3 separate regions of the Homo sapiens genome follow, and regions 2 and 3 are each linked to region 1. Evidence: promoter capture Hi-C in 16 types of primary human blood cells and fetal thymus (Javierre and others, 2016). All regions are on one chromosome and are shown on one strand. The core of a region is centred on a gene start or on the middle of the fragment in contact, and the rest is flanking DNA. Distances in the headings are between cores, read along the strand shown. Region 1 holds the start of RARRES1 (retinoic acid receptor responder 1). Region 2 overlaps LOC100287290 (a long non-coding RNA gene). Region 3 overlaps GFM1 (G elongation factor mitochondrial 1).

Region 1 (4,398 bases), core at 684-3,183:
CCTGGGCTCAAGCAATCCTCCCATCTCAGCCTCCTGAGTAGCTGGGACCACAGGCCCACGCCACCACATCGGCTAATTTTTTTTTAATTTTTAATTTTTTTTATTTTTGGCAGAGATGGTACTTTGCCATGTTACCCAGACTGGTCTACAACTCCTGAGCTCAAGCGATTTGCCCACCTCGGCCTCCCAAAGTGCTGAGATTACAGGCGTGAGCCACCATGCCCCAGCAGGTTGCCTTTTTCTTTATTATTTTATTTTATTTTATTTATTTTATTTTGAGAGGGAGTTTTGCTCTTGTTACCCAGGCTGGAGTGCAGTGGCGCAATCTCGGCTCACCGCAACCTCCGCCTCCCAAGTTCAAGCGATTCTCCTGCCTCAGCCTCCCAAGTAGCTGGGATTACAGGCATGCGCCACCACACCCAGCTAATTTTGTATTTTTAGTAGAGACAGGGTTTCTCCATGTTGGTCAGGCTGGTCTCGAACTCCCGACCTCAGGTGATCCACCTGTCTCGGCCTCCCAAAGTGCTGGGATTACAGGCGTGAGCCACCGTGCCTGGCCAGGTTGCCTTTTTCTAGGAACAATTTGATTTAATCATTCAATAAATACAGCCGTGCCGGGTACAGGAATAAGTTTTGAAGAACCGAGGCTGAGCTTCTTGAAGGACTTTCCAATGGTGTTTGCTTCCAGGCGTTTGGCACTGTTAAATGAAAATCCTGCTGCTACACTTTAAAACTCGACCTATTTATTAAATACATGCGATACTCAATTCCAGATTCTTTGAGGCCGTGTGTCTGCAGGCTTTGTGGAATATCTGGAGGTTGTAGAAGGAGCAACTTTGCTTTTGGGACAGACTTAGTGTAGTTCTGTAACTTTTGTAATCTATAGGATGAAGAACGCAAAGTAGCTTCACACATACGAGACAATTCCTACAGTCAATGCCTTGAAATCAGCAACCAAACAACGGGTTGCAAAGTTCTCATTCATTCGGTTCATATAGAACACTGGGCTCGGATTCACTCACTTCTAATTAGATCAAATCAGACGCCAGCATTAGCAGGTTTCTGCCCAGGCCTACGTGTAAATTCCAACCACATTACCCCGAAGCCCTAGCGTGGTGGACTGCAATTAACAAGAGACAGTCGTCCGCGGTATGGTATGGCTACTGGCTTAGATTTTGGAAATCCCGCCCAAAACTTTGGCTGCAGCCACTAGTAGGGCGCAGGCACAGTAAGCACCCCCATAGCAACCAACTCTGGGTACCTCCGGACAAAATTAAATGTTGCCCTTTCAGCCTGTTCCTCAATTTCCCAAAGCATCTCTTTCCCAGGTGTGGGAGCAGTCAAGAGCGCTGCCCTGTGAAAAACCTATGACCTCATAAATGCTGGAAGGAACGAGCCAGATTTCTGCAGACGCTGTGCACCGAAGGGGCCCCTTCCACGCCCTGGGATACTTCAGGGGCGCCAGGCCCAGCTGGGATCTCCCCGGGCGTCGTGCGCACTGCACCTTCCCTGGCGGACCATCCGTTGGGCCGGCAGGCGCGCGTACCCAGGTGTCACCTCCCAGCGCCGTGCGCGGACAGGCAGGCGCGTGCCCCGGCGCGTCGCTCCGCACTCACCCACGCGCGGCCCTCCTGCACCTCGGCCAGCACTCGTAGCGCGCTGGGCGAGCCGGACCGGAAGTTGAAGAAGTGAAGCGCCGCGCGCGCCGCCTGCTGCAGGAGCCTGCGCGGGACCCCAGCATCCTGAGGCTGCCCAGGGTCGTCGGGGTCCCCGGACCCCGCGGGCGCCGCCACCGGGGCGAGCAACAGCAGCAGCGCGAGCAGCGGGGCGGTGGGGCGCGGGCCCCTGGGCCCGGACCAGGGAGCAGGCAGCCGTTGCCGGCGGGGCTGCATGGACGCAGGAAAGTTGGCTCGGCACCCGACAGACACGGGCTCGGAGCGGGCAGTGCCGGCGCTCGCGGAAATAAGGCCGTGGTGGGCCCCTCCCCTCCGCCCCCAGGGCGAAGGTCTGTAGCGAGCCCGGGTCCCCATGGGGCCACTCCTTTTCCACGTTTCCCGCAGCCCCTGGGTTCTCTCTGCCCCTCCCCGCTGCCCGGGCTTAGTGCTAGGATGCGGCATCGCCTCCGCAGCGCAGGGCCGGGTGCTTCTGGCCCAGGCCGCGGCGGGAGAGGGTCGGGGTTGGGGGGACAATGGGGACGCCTCCCCGAGGAATCGCGGCCCGCCCGTGCTACCTCGTACCGCGTCCCTAGCCCAGCTCAGGGACTTGGCGTTTCCCCTGCGGTTTCGCAACCCTGGGGTTTTAGAGGGAAACTGCTTGGATTCTCCAAGCATTAGGGCTGTGATTTCCCAGCAGGTGAAAGGGGACGGCGGAGAAAGGGGCAGGCCGCAGCGGGCATTGATGGGGCTCCTCGTGGCACAGCCACTGTGGAGGTGGGAGAAGTCGCCAGAGGGCTGGGGCTGGGGAGGAGGTGAAGGTGGATGCCGGCAGGGAGCCCGGGACGCCGGAGCCAGGGGCTGGGGACGGGCCTGAACACCTGCCGGTCCTGCCCAGAAGAGGCGCCGAGGAGGGAGGAGTGGGCAGCAAGGCAGGGTAAGATAAGGCCTGAGAGTCCCATTTGTCTCAGAAGCAAGTAGGTCATTGATACATTGATAACCACTGTGCGAGGCAGATTTAAAGGCCGGGGATGGAAGTCGGATTCCAGCGGGGTGAGGCATGGATGGGGCTTCAGGGAATGGAGGCAGCAAGTGTTGGCAACTCTTTTTTTTTTTTTTTTTTTTGAGACCATGTCTTGCTCTGTCTCCCAGGCTGGAGTGCAGTGGCACGATCTTGGCTCACTGCAACCTCCGCCTCCCAGGTTCAAGCAATTCTACCTCAGCCTCCCGAGTAGCTGGGACTACAGCCACCATGCCCGGCTAATTTTTGTATTTTTAGTAAAGACGGGGTTTCACCATGTTGGTCAGGCTGGTCTCAAACTCCTGACCTCGTGAGCCGCCCGCCTGGGCCTCCCAAAGTGCTGGGATTACAGGCGTGAGCCACGGTACCCGGCGGCAACTCTTTTTAGACAGGTGGCAGTGAAGGGCTAAGATAGCCATTGTTTTTAAACCGTAGGCAAGAGAAAAAGTCCTGGAGAACCAGGGCTGAGAGAGGAGAACTGGTACTGCTAGGCACTCCCAACATCCATTTCTCCATCCTGCATTTTGTTCAGGGGTCTACCCCTGCACCAAACGTGGACCCCAGTGCCATTGTGGGGCTAAAGGAAATCTCTTTTTGCCAGTGGGTGGTTGAGAGTGGGCATGTGCCAGTTCTGCATGGTGAGCAAAGCCTGTGGGTTGATGGGCGTGGTGCCATCTCTGGAAAGATCCTGTCTTACTGCACTTCTTCCTCTGGCTGTTGTCTGTCCCTTGTCTGTCTTTCCTTCCTTCTGCAGATAATTGTGAAACACCTGTGCCAGGCCCTGGGGGAATGAGGGTGAACAATCTTAAACATCTCTGCCTTCCTGGAGCACACCTTCTAGGCAAGTGGGGCCCGGACACTCAGTGAGGCCAAGGGAATGTGTGCTATATTGGATGAAGTTACATGCCAGGGAGAAAAATTAAGCCAGAAAAAGAAATGGGGAGTTGGGAGGTGGTTAATCTTAAAAGGTGTGGTCAGGGCAGGCCTCTCTCGGGAGGTAATATTTGGGTGAGGACCTGAAGGAGGCAGAGCCAAGTGGACATGTATGCAAAAGCACTGTAGGCAGAGGGAACGCAAGTGCAGAGGCTAGGGCAGGAGCCTATCTGGCATGTTTGAAGAAAAGCAAGAAAATCCAGCTGGAGGGAGAAGCCAAGGGGGAGAGTGCAGGCCCTCGATAGGCCCCAGTTAGGTCTGGCTGTGCTGCCCAGAAGCATGCCTCTGTCTTGCTGGCTGCCTGAGAATGAAGCCCATTTCAAGAGTGGCAGAGCAGAGAGAGGGGAGGGCCCTGGGTTCCTGATGGCATTGTTGAACACAGGAATCAGCGGATCCTGGAGTTTATTTCTTATTATTTCACTTCCCTGAAGCTGGAGTTGCTGTTTCTTGCCCTCAGAGGCAAGCCTAGCACAGGTAATCACCTCCCAGAACCCAGTCATCTCCCCATAGTTTGTTTTGTGCTGCAATAATAGAATACCTGAGACTGGGTAATTTATAAAGAACAGATATCTGTTTCTCACAGTTCTGGAGGTTGGAAGTCCAAGATCCAGGCACCAACAGGCTTGGTGTCTGGTGGGGTCTTAGCTCTGTCTCTGCTTCCAAAATGGGGCTTTGCGTGCTTCATCCTATGAAGGGGAGGAACGCTGTGTCCTCACATGCTGGAAGAGTGAGAGAGTACCCACTCTTATGACCTAAACACCTCACTCTAGGCCCCACCTCCCAACATTCTTG
Region 2 (4,398 bases), core at 698-3,197, 46 kb after region 1:
TGAAGTCAATGTGAAACAGCCTTAGGTTCCCTGCCTTCAGACCCTATTCTACCTCAAGGTTGTTCTGTTTGGTGGGTACGCTGTGCTCCCTCTGTGTTATCCCAAAACCTTCATGGAGAGCCTGCCATATCTGGCAAATTTGTACAGGTGGATTTGGGGACTGAAGGCAAAAAAGGACCATGTTCACCTGGGAAAGAAGTGACATGAGGGACAAGAAGCAGGGGCATGAGTGGGACCACAGGCCACAACTACCCCCATGCATCCCAGTACCCTGCAGGGTGGCATTGGGAAGGGCTTTGGGATCTTCCCACACAACTCCGGTGAGGTTTGTGTCTGTGCCCGAGAGAAGCTGCACAAGAGGAACGCAGGAGGCCAGGGCTGGGGAGAGCGGCCTGGGGAAGGGTGGGAAGGCTGCAGGGCAGGCCTGGGGGCTGGAGGGGCAGTTGTGGCTGTTAGGAGGGAGTGTGGATCGTGTCACCTCCTGGGTTCCCTTGAGATATTTGGCGGGCTGGACGTGAGGGGGAAGAATCTGATAAAATACTAAGTTCTTTTGACCAACTAAGTTGGAGCATTACAGGCTGGGGCTGTGTTACAGACTGGAAGTGGGGCCTGATTTGGGTCTCTGGAGCTTCTGAGGTCTGGGACATTTGGTTTGCACAAGCCACTGAATCCATTTTTTATGAGAGACAGAAGCTGGATTAAATGATAGCTATATTTCTTTAATTTTTCCTATTCAATAATTGAAAGATATAAATTTCTAGGTCCTCTGTCTCTCCCAATTTGGCCAACACCGGTAGAGAAGCCACTAACTATTTGGTTAGTTTCATTTTACTTTTAGACTTCTAAAGGTACCTGGCTATTTACATTTAAGGGGACCCATCAAGTGCTAAATTTGTTGACTCTTTAATAAAAGAAAATTTTAAGAAAAGAAAAAGGAACTGATATATTTCACAACTGGTAAATTACAGTAAGCTAAAGTCCCATGACATTCCAGAGTGCCTCAACCACCCACAGCACTCTTAGAGATAATAAGGAAATTTCAGACTAACCAAACTTGTCCTGTGTATTTTCTTCCTGTGGTACATATTAGACTACAAAGCTTGCAGTAGAAGAAGAAAAGACAATCACTGTGTACTGCTGGGTTGTGGGTTCTGAAGCAAACTTGAAATTGAAGGTTAAAGCTGGGCAAATGTAGCAGAATGATCTGTTTCTGGAGAAAGTGATTCTAATGCAGAGATTATGGCCTGAGATTTTGAGAGGGGGCAGTGAGTGTTGTGGGGGCAGGCAATGGCCTGCTACGCAGACAGGATGGAGAGAGATAAATGGTCCTCCTGAAATAGTAGCTTTTGGGGTAGATATTACTGGTGACACAGCAGAACTGAGTGATGTACTCCTTGCTGGGGAGGAAACCAGCATTTTAAAATTCGCTACATATTTATGACCCTTTGGACCATAATCCTGGAGACCTTTGCTGTTCTAAGTGTCTGATGAGGACTCCTGAGCTGCCGGGTTCCAAGATGCAGCTGCCAGATTATGTTTATTTTTTGACAAAAACAGGAGCTGGTGGATCTCAAGTCTGGGACAGGGCCCTGGTGTCCTGCTGACCCTGATTGGAATTCATTTAGAAAAATGCAGATGGGCTGCACCGTTTCTTACTTAAGGATATAATATACCCATAATACTTTAAATGAAGTGCTGGAGATGTTTTCTAGAGGTCTCACCTTGCAAGAGATCTAGTGGGCTAGATGAAGCTAACCATCAAACTGCTGCCCCCGTTTGAGTCCCTGAGACAACTTCATGCCAGTCAGGACTCATACAAGTTAGGAGCTTTGTGATAATGAGTTCAGAATTAGTAGTGTTTCACTCTTCAGACTTGTCTTGAATTCTATCAATGACTTCCCTCAGTGGAATTTGTTTATTTATTTTTGAGATGGAGTGTCTCTCTGTTGCCCCGGCTGGAGTGCAGTGGCATGATCTCGGCTCACTGCAACCTCCGCCTCCCAGATTCAAGTGATTCTCCTGCTTCAGCCTCTTGAGAAGCTGGGATTACAGGCATGCACCACCAAGCCCAGTTCATTTTTTGTAATTTTGGTAGAGATGGGGTTTCACCATGTTGGCCAGGCTGGTCTGAAACTCCTGACCTCAAGTGATACGCCTGCTTTGGCCTCCCAATCTCAGTGGAATTTAGATCTGTCAATTTCTTACTTTTTGTATTTTGAAGCTATGTTATTGAGTGTGTTTGGATTTAGGACTGTGATATCTTTCTGTTGGATTCAGTCCTGATCACATAAAGTGCCCCTCTTTATGTTTGGTAACACTTCTTGCATTACAATCTCTTTTGTCTGATATTAGGATAGCTACCTCAGCTCCCTTGTGGTGAATATTTACATGGTGACTCTTTTTCTATCCTCTCACATTCAATCTATTTCTTATACTTAAAATGTGGTTGTTGTAAGCAACATATATTTTTATCCAGTATTACAGTCTTGGCTTTTTACTTGGGTTATTTAGTTAGTTTATACTAAAACTGATACAGTTGAGTTTATTTCTACTGTCTACCATTGGTTTCTATATGTAGACCTGTTTGTTTTATGTTTCCTTTTTTTCTTACCTTTTTTGATTAATAAAATATTTTTTATTATTCTGTTTTACACCTTCACTAACTTGCCATAGACTTCATTACTGTCTGCTTCCATTTCCTCATTGCTAATCTCTGGCTACCTTCAGTTCTGGATTCCATCAGTTGAAGAGGAAAAGTAACATTCTCCAAGTGCTCAGGGTGAGCAATAGATAGTTTAAGCTTAGAAATGAATGGGCTGGAAGGATAAATAGAGATAAATAGAGATGGAAAATCACATTCCATGAGATACATGGTTTTATAATGGAAGGGGCTGCATTTTCAACAACAGAAAAGAGAAATAATGTCAGTTATTCTAAATATTGTATAGTAAAACTTCCTTGGCTCCAAATGTAGCCATGTTTCCCAATTTTCTTACACTTACAGATACGTCTGTCCTTTGAGAAGAAGTCATGCTATTGACATTCTGAAGTCAAAATTAAGCATCACTCATTATTTAATTGCTTAATTTACTGTAATCCTTGGATGAGTTTAGTAAAAGAAACTGGTATTATCTGATACCTGTTCTATCATCTTTCCTCTTCCTGGCTTTCTTTTTGATTTTATTTATTTATTTATTGAGATAGGGTCTCACTCTGTCACCTGGACTGGAGTGTAGTGGCGCCATCTTGGCTTATTGCAACCTCCATCTCCCAGGTTCAAGTGATTCTTGTGCCTCAGCCTCCCGAGTATCTGGGGTTACAGGCAAGCACCACCATGCCCGGCTAATTTTTGTATTTTTAGTACAGACGGGGTTTCACCATGTTGGCCAGGCTGGTCTCAAACTCCTGACCTCAAATGATCCACCCACCTTGGCCTCCCAAAGTGCTGGGATTACAAGTGTGAGCCACCACGCCCGGCCTCTTTTTGATTTTAAAGGAGGAGTTTTTACTTCTGTGTTTCTAAAGCTAATACTCCCAGCTCCTAGCTACCCTTACCCACCTCCTGTGGAATATCACCTTCACATGTTTTGGCATGTTTGCTATCACTCTTTCTGTTTCTCCTCAGAATATATCTTTTGTCTCTCCTGCCATTTCTAGTTACATGCCGTCTCTTGGGTCTCTTTTCCAAGAGGTTTGTATCCTCTACTTTCATTTTCTATTTACTCCTTTCTTTTTTTTTTTTTTTTTTTTGAGATGGGGTCTTGCTGTGTCATCCAGGCTGGAGTGCAGTGGCGTGATCTCAGCTCACCGCAAGCTCTGCCTCCCAGGTTCACGCCATTCTCCTGTCTCAGCCTCCCAAGTAGCTGGTACTACAGGCACCCGCCACCATGCCTGGCTAATTTTTTGTATTTTTAGTAGAGACGGGGCTTCACCATATTAGTCAGGTTGGTCTCGATCTCCTGATCTCATGATCCATCTGCCTCTGCCTCCCAAAGTGCTGGGATTACAGGCGTGAGCCACTGCGCCCGGCCCACTCATTTCTTTTTTTTTTTTAATTTTTCTCAACAGTTTTAATTTCATCAGGTCATTTAAAAAACGGATGCATATAAACACAAAAAGAGTTCAGATTTTGACTTCCTGCTGGCAGAAACATAAAAAGAAAAAAAAAGAGTTCAAATTTGTATGTTTAAAAAATGGATCCATAATAGTTGAACATATTTATAGAGTACAAGTGAGATTTTGATACATGCATACAATATGTATAGAGCTCAATTTTTCTTTTTAATTAAAAATTTTATTATTTACTCATTTATTTGTTGATGTATTAGCTAGGATATTTTCAGCTACATGTGACAAGAAATCCAACTACTAATGTAGCTTAAATAATGAGGACATTAG
Region 3 (4,398 bases), core at 748-3,247, 39 kb before region 1:
GTATGACTTTTACTTGATAGTTTAAAAAACAAACAAACAAACAAAAAACCCTCTCTTTTTTTTAAATCCCTAGGGAAAGGGAGAATACACAATGGAGTATAGCAGGTATCAGCCATGTTTACCATCCACACAAGAAGACGTCATTAATAAGTATTTGGAAGCTACAGGTCAACTTCCTGTTAAAAAAGGAAAAGCCAAGAACTAACTTTGCTTACTGTGAGTTGACTGACTCTAATTGAATCTGCGTGGTTTTGATACTTTGATGGATTCCAGTGGAATAAATTCAGGCTGCTGAAACAAGAAATTCTGAGCCCAGGAAGCGGGCTCTTCTTTCTTCAAAAGAAGCCCTTCTTGTTCATATTCAGGAGCTTCTGTTATATTCAAAGGTAATTCTATGTCTATCTCAACTCTATTGATTGGTTTTATAGTTCATTGAAAATCCTCAAATAAAATATAATTATTACTGAAATATGTTTAATATTTAAGGGGAAAAGAGACTAATTTCAGTTATACTTTTAAGCTTAGAATGTATGTTCATTTCCAAATTTTGTATCATAAGAGTTTTCAACATAGAGAAAAGCTGAAAAAATGCAAAGAATAACCACATACTTTCCATCTACCTTCCTTTGTTAACGGGTTGTTTATCATATAATAATTTGTTTTGTCATATTTGCTTTCACTGTCTATTATCTGTTTAAGTCTCATAACTCTATTTTTAGTTTGCTGAAGACTTGAAAGTGAATCGCATATATCATGACACTTCTTGGAGTGTCATTAATGGGCAGGCTTTTCTGTTGAAGAGTGGATTCCGTATGTTCTTCATAGAGAGTGTTTTTCAGATTCTTCATTGGGATATTAAAATATTAGCCAAATTTCTCTCTGTTTTATATATGTCTGTTTATTTCAGTTTGTGGTTTCTGCAAATTTGTAACTGCCTCTGTTTTAGGAGTATAAGTATTACTTCCTTGTGGTCTATTGTGAAGTAAAAAGTAGACCCTTGCATATACTATTCTTGTTTGTGTTCATCTTAATGTTTTTGTACAGCTAAATCAAATGTAATTTATAGAGTTAGTTTCATCAACCTAATGAATGCTAGTTAAATTTGAATTCCTTGGAATTTATCGTATATTGTATTCACTGAGATTATGAAGGGACAAATGTTAATCTTTTGTTTCCAGAAAAAGTTGGGCTTTCCCAAGCAGTTCTATTACCCGGTTCAGAATTGCTTCATCCAAAAATCATCTGATGGTATAGATGGATCCTAGTCCTTTTCATTACCTGATGGTAGAAATAAAATAATTGATTTTAAATTCCTTTGCTTTTCTTGACTTATAGACGTGGCTTTATACTTTAAGGTTTCTAGGGGAAAAAGATCTTTAAAAAGTATTGAGCACATGTTTTCAAGGCATTTGCTAAATACTTTTTTTTTTTTAATTTTTATTTTTTTGTGGTAGGGTCTCACTCTATCCCCCAGGCTGGAATGCAGAGGGACTATCTCTGCTCACTACAACCTCTGCTTCCTGGGTTCAAGCAATTATCCCATCTCAGCTGCCTAAGTAGGTGGGACTACAGGTGTGCGCCACCACTCCCTGCTAATTTTTTGCATTTTTTGAAGAGATAGGGTTTTGCCATATTGCCCAGGCTGGTCTCAAACTCCTGGGCTCAAGCTCTCTGCCTGCCCCAGCCTCCCAAAGTGCTGGGATTATGGGCATGAACCACCATGCCTGGCTGCTAAATACTTTAAATGCATTGTATAATTTCATTCTCACAACCCCGAGAGTAAGTACTATTATTATGTCCATTTTGTAATAGAAGAAGCACAGATAAGGTAAATAACTTTAATGAGACCACAAAACCTAAGTTTTTTAATTGATACTTTAATTACAATTATTCACCAAGTGCATTTCCCCCATGAATGTCTGTTGCTACAGTAGCATCAGGTCTGAAAAAATGTGGTTGCTTTGGCATTTCCTCAGCATCTTGTGACATTCACAATAACTTTGAATATTGTTCCTAATGAGGAAATACATTCTGTGTACCTTCATGGAATTTAGCATGATTCCTATGGCTATTGAGAATAGTCACAACTACTGGAACTAAACTGGATAAATAAGTAAAAAACTTACTTATTTTTAATTTGTAAAACATCCTGGTTATAATGTTACAGTGTTAGAAAAGGTCCTAGATATTTAATCCAACACCAGCATTTCATAGGTAATGATTCAGGCCTAGCTGGTGGGAGTAATTAGAATAGGTTCACAAATGGACAGATCAGGACTAGAACCCACATCTCTTTCTAAGTCATTAGTTATAGTTGGCAAAGATCACATACCAACCAAAGTCTGTAGCATGGAAAAAAATTAATGAGAATATTCATAGGTGAGGGTTGTTTATACTACTATCAAGAAGGATAATTGTTGGCTAATTCAAATATTACATCCTTGTATTGGACAACAGTAGCAGCACTAGGTAGTATTGTACTGATTCCCAACCCTCACTGTACTTTAAAAATCACTGGGGGAGCCTTAAAAAGAAATACCTAGGCCTACACCCAGATATTTAGATTATTTGGCTGGATCAAGATAAAAACTTTTTTGGGTGATTCTAATATGCAGACAAAGTTAAAGACCGCTGAAATATTGCCTGCACTGCGCTTAAGCCCAAGACATGAAATGAAAAATCTGTGAAATTCAGGAGTGTCATATTGTATTCTTTTGTGTGATATTAGAGTTTGGTTTTTTTGTTTAACAACTGTTTTTTTTTTTAAGAGATGGGGTCTTCTAAGACAAAAACCATCTGACTCAGCAATACCATTACTATATACCCAAAGGAACGTAAATCATTCTATTATAAAGACACATGCATGCACACATTCATTGCAGAACTGTTCATAATGGCAAAGATATGGAATCAACCTAAATGCCTATCACTGATAGACTGGATAAAGAAAATGTGGTACATACACATTGTGGAATACTATGCAGCCATAAAAAAAGAATGAGATCAAGTCCTTTGCAGGGACATAGATGGAGCTGGAAGCCATTATCCTCATCAAACTAACATAGGAAAAGAAAACCAAATACTGCATGTTCTCACTTATAAGTGGGAGCTAAATAATGAGAACACATGGACACACAGAGGGGAACAACACACACTGGGGCCTATTGGAGGATGGAGGGTGGGTGGAGGGAGAGGATCAGGAAAAATAACTAATGGGTACTAGGCTTAATACCTTGATGATGAAATAATCTGTACAACAAACCCCCAGGACACAAGTTTAGCTATGTAACAAGCCTGCACATCAACCCCTGAACTTAAAGAGATGGGGTCTCGCTGTGTTTCCCAGGCTGCTCACAAATTCATGAGCTCAAGCAGTCCTCTGGCCTCAGCCTCTGGAGTAGCTGGGACAAGAGGCACACACCACCATGCCTGGCTTGATAACTTTACCTTAAAAAAAAAAGTGTTCCTATTTATATAAGCTTCCAACTGACTTTCAAAAGAACTTGTTCAACTTCTAAAAATTCGTAATTCAGGTAGGAAGAAAATGAAAGTATGAATAAAATAAAATGGAATGTAGACAAAATCCCTGGTATTATTTTATATGTCTTAAGAAAGTTCTAAAGGTATTAGGAAAATGAATGTCAAGCTGTATGTAATTGTAATTAGCTAAGAGTGATTCAGAATAATTTAGACTGTTAATGAAAAGAGGACATAGGGAATAGTTTTTCATTTTATGCCAAGTGATTTTTCTGTTTTATTAGCTAGTGAAACCAATGTTGGTAAAATTAAGTTAACAATTTTAGAGTTTGTGCTAGAAAAGATATTCTGAGGCCGGATGTGGTGGCTCACGCCTGTAATTCCAGCACTTTGGGAGGCCAAGGTGGGTGGATAACCTGAGGTCAGGAGTTCGAGACCACCCTGGCCAACACGGTGAAACCCCGTCTCTACTATAAATACAAAAATCGTCCGGGCGGGGTGGCTCACGCCTGTAGCCCCAGCTGCTCAGGAGGCTGAGGCAGGAGGGTCGCTTGAACCCGGAAGGCGGAGGCTATAGTGAGCTGAGATGGCACCACTGCACTCCAGCACTCCAGCACTCCAGCCTAGGCAACAGAGTGAGACTCTGTCTCAAAAAAAAAAGAAAAAAAAGAAAAGATGTTCTGATGGTGATACTGATAAATTTTTAGTTGGTTTAACTTTTTGGGTTTTGTAAATTAATAAATTAGGTAATTGTGTTTGTATATTATTTGTATGTATAGAATTCCCCCTCATAATCTATTGTACTGTAATAAATCTGCTAAAAGGTTACCTTAGAAACATTACCTGGTTGGATTATGGATGTGTTTGTGAGCCTAATCTCAGTAATGAAAAATGCCTTTAGTGGCTCATGCCTGTAATTCC

Evidence for each region. Contacts are between HindIII fragments. The CHiCAGO score rates a contact against its expected background, and 5 or more counts as called.
Region 2: a fragment that was not itself captured here is called in contact with the fragment with the promoter of RARRES1 in region 1 in 2 of 17 cell types (erythroblasts and M0 macrophages); the score reaches 8.2 in erythroblasts.
Region 3: a fragment that was not itself captured here is called in contact with the fragment with the promoter of RARRES1 in region 1 in 1 of 17 cell types (neutrophils); the score reaches 5.0 in neutrophils.

What each region holds. Positions count from the first base shown.
Region 1 is chr3:158,730,524-158,734,921 of GRCh38, forward strand. It overlaps RARRES1 (retinoic acid receptor responder 1), which reads right to left and starts at 1,934. Exons shown (of 6, transcript NM_206963.2): 1 at 1,617-1,934. The coding sequence starts at 1,892. LOC100287290 (a long non-coding RNA gene) reads left to right here and starts at 1,838. Exons shown (of 5, transcript NR_171782.1): 1 at 1,838-2,005; 2 at 3,428-3,514. RefSeq lists a silencer at 1,749-1,808 and an enhancer at 1,886-2,386. The HindIII fragment of the contact is 14,465 bases long and covers 1-4,398 here.
Region 2 is chr3:158,776,359-158,780,756 of GRCh38, forward strand. The region is part of intron 4 of LOC100287290 (a long non-coding RNA gene); the gene reads left to right. Among named protein-coding and RNA genes, the nearest start is that of MFSD1, 23 kb to the right of the region's middle. The HindIII fragment of the contact is 1,701 bases long and covers 1,098-2,798 here.
Region 3 is chr3:158,691,263-158,695,660 of GRCh38, forward strand. It overlaps GFM1 (G elongation factor mitochondrial 1), which reads left to right. Exons shown (of 18, transcript NM_024996.7): 18 at 74-4,319. The coding sequence ends at 205. Among named protein-coding and RNA genes, the nearest start is that of LXN, 21 kb to the left of the region's middle. The HindIII fragment of the contact is 2,959 bases long and covers 519-3,477 here.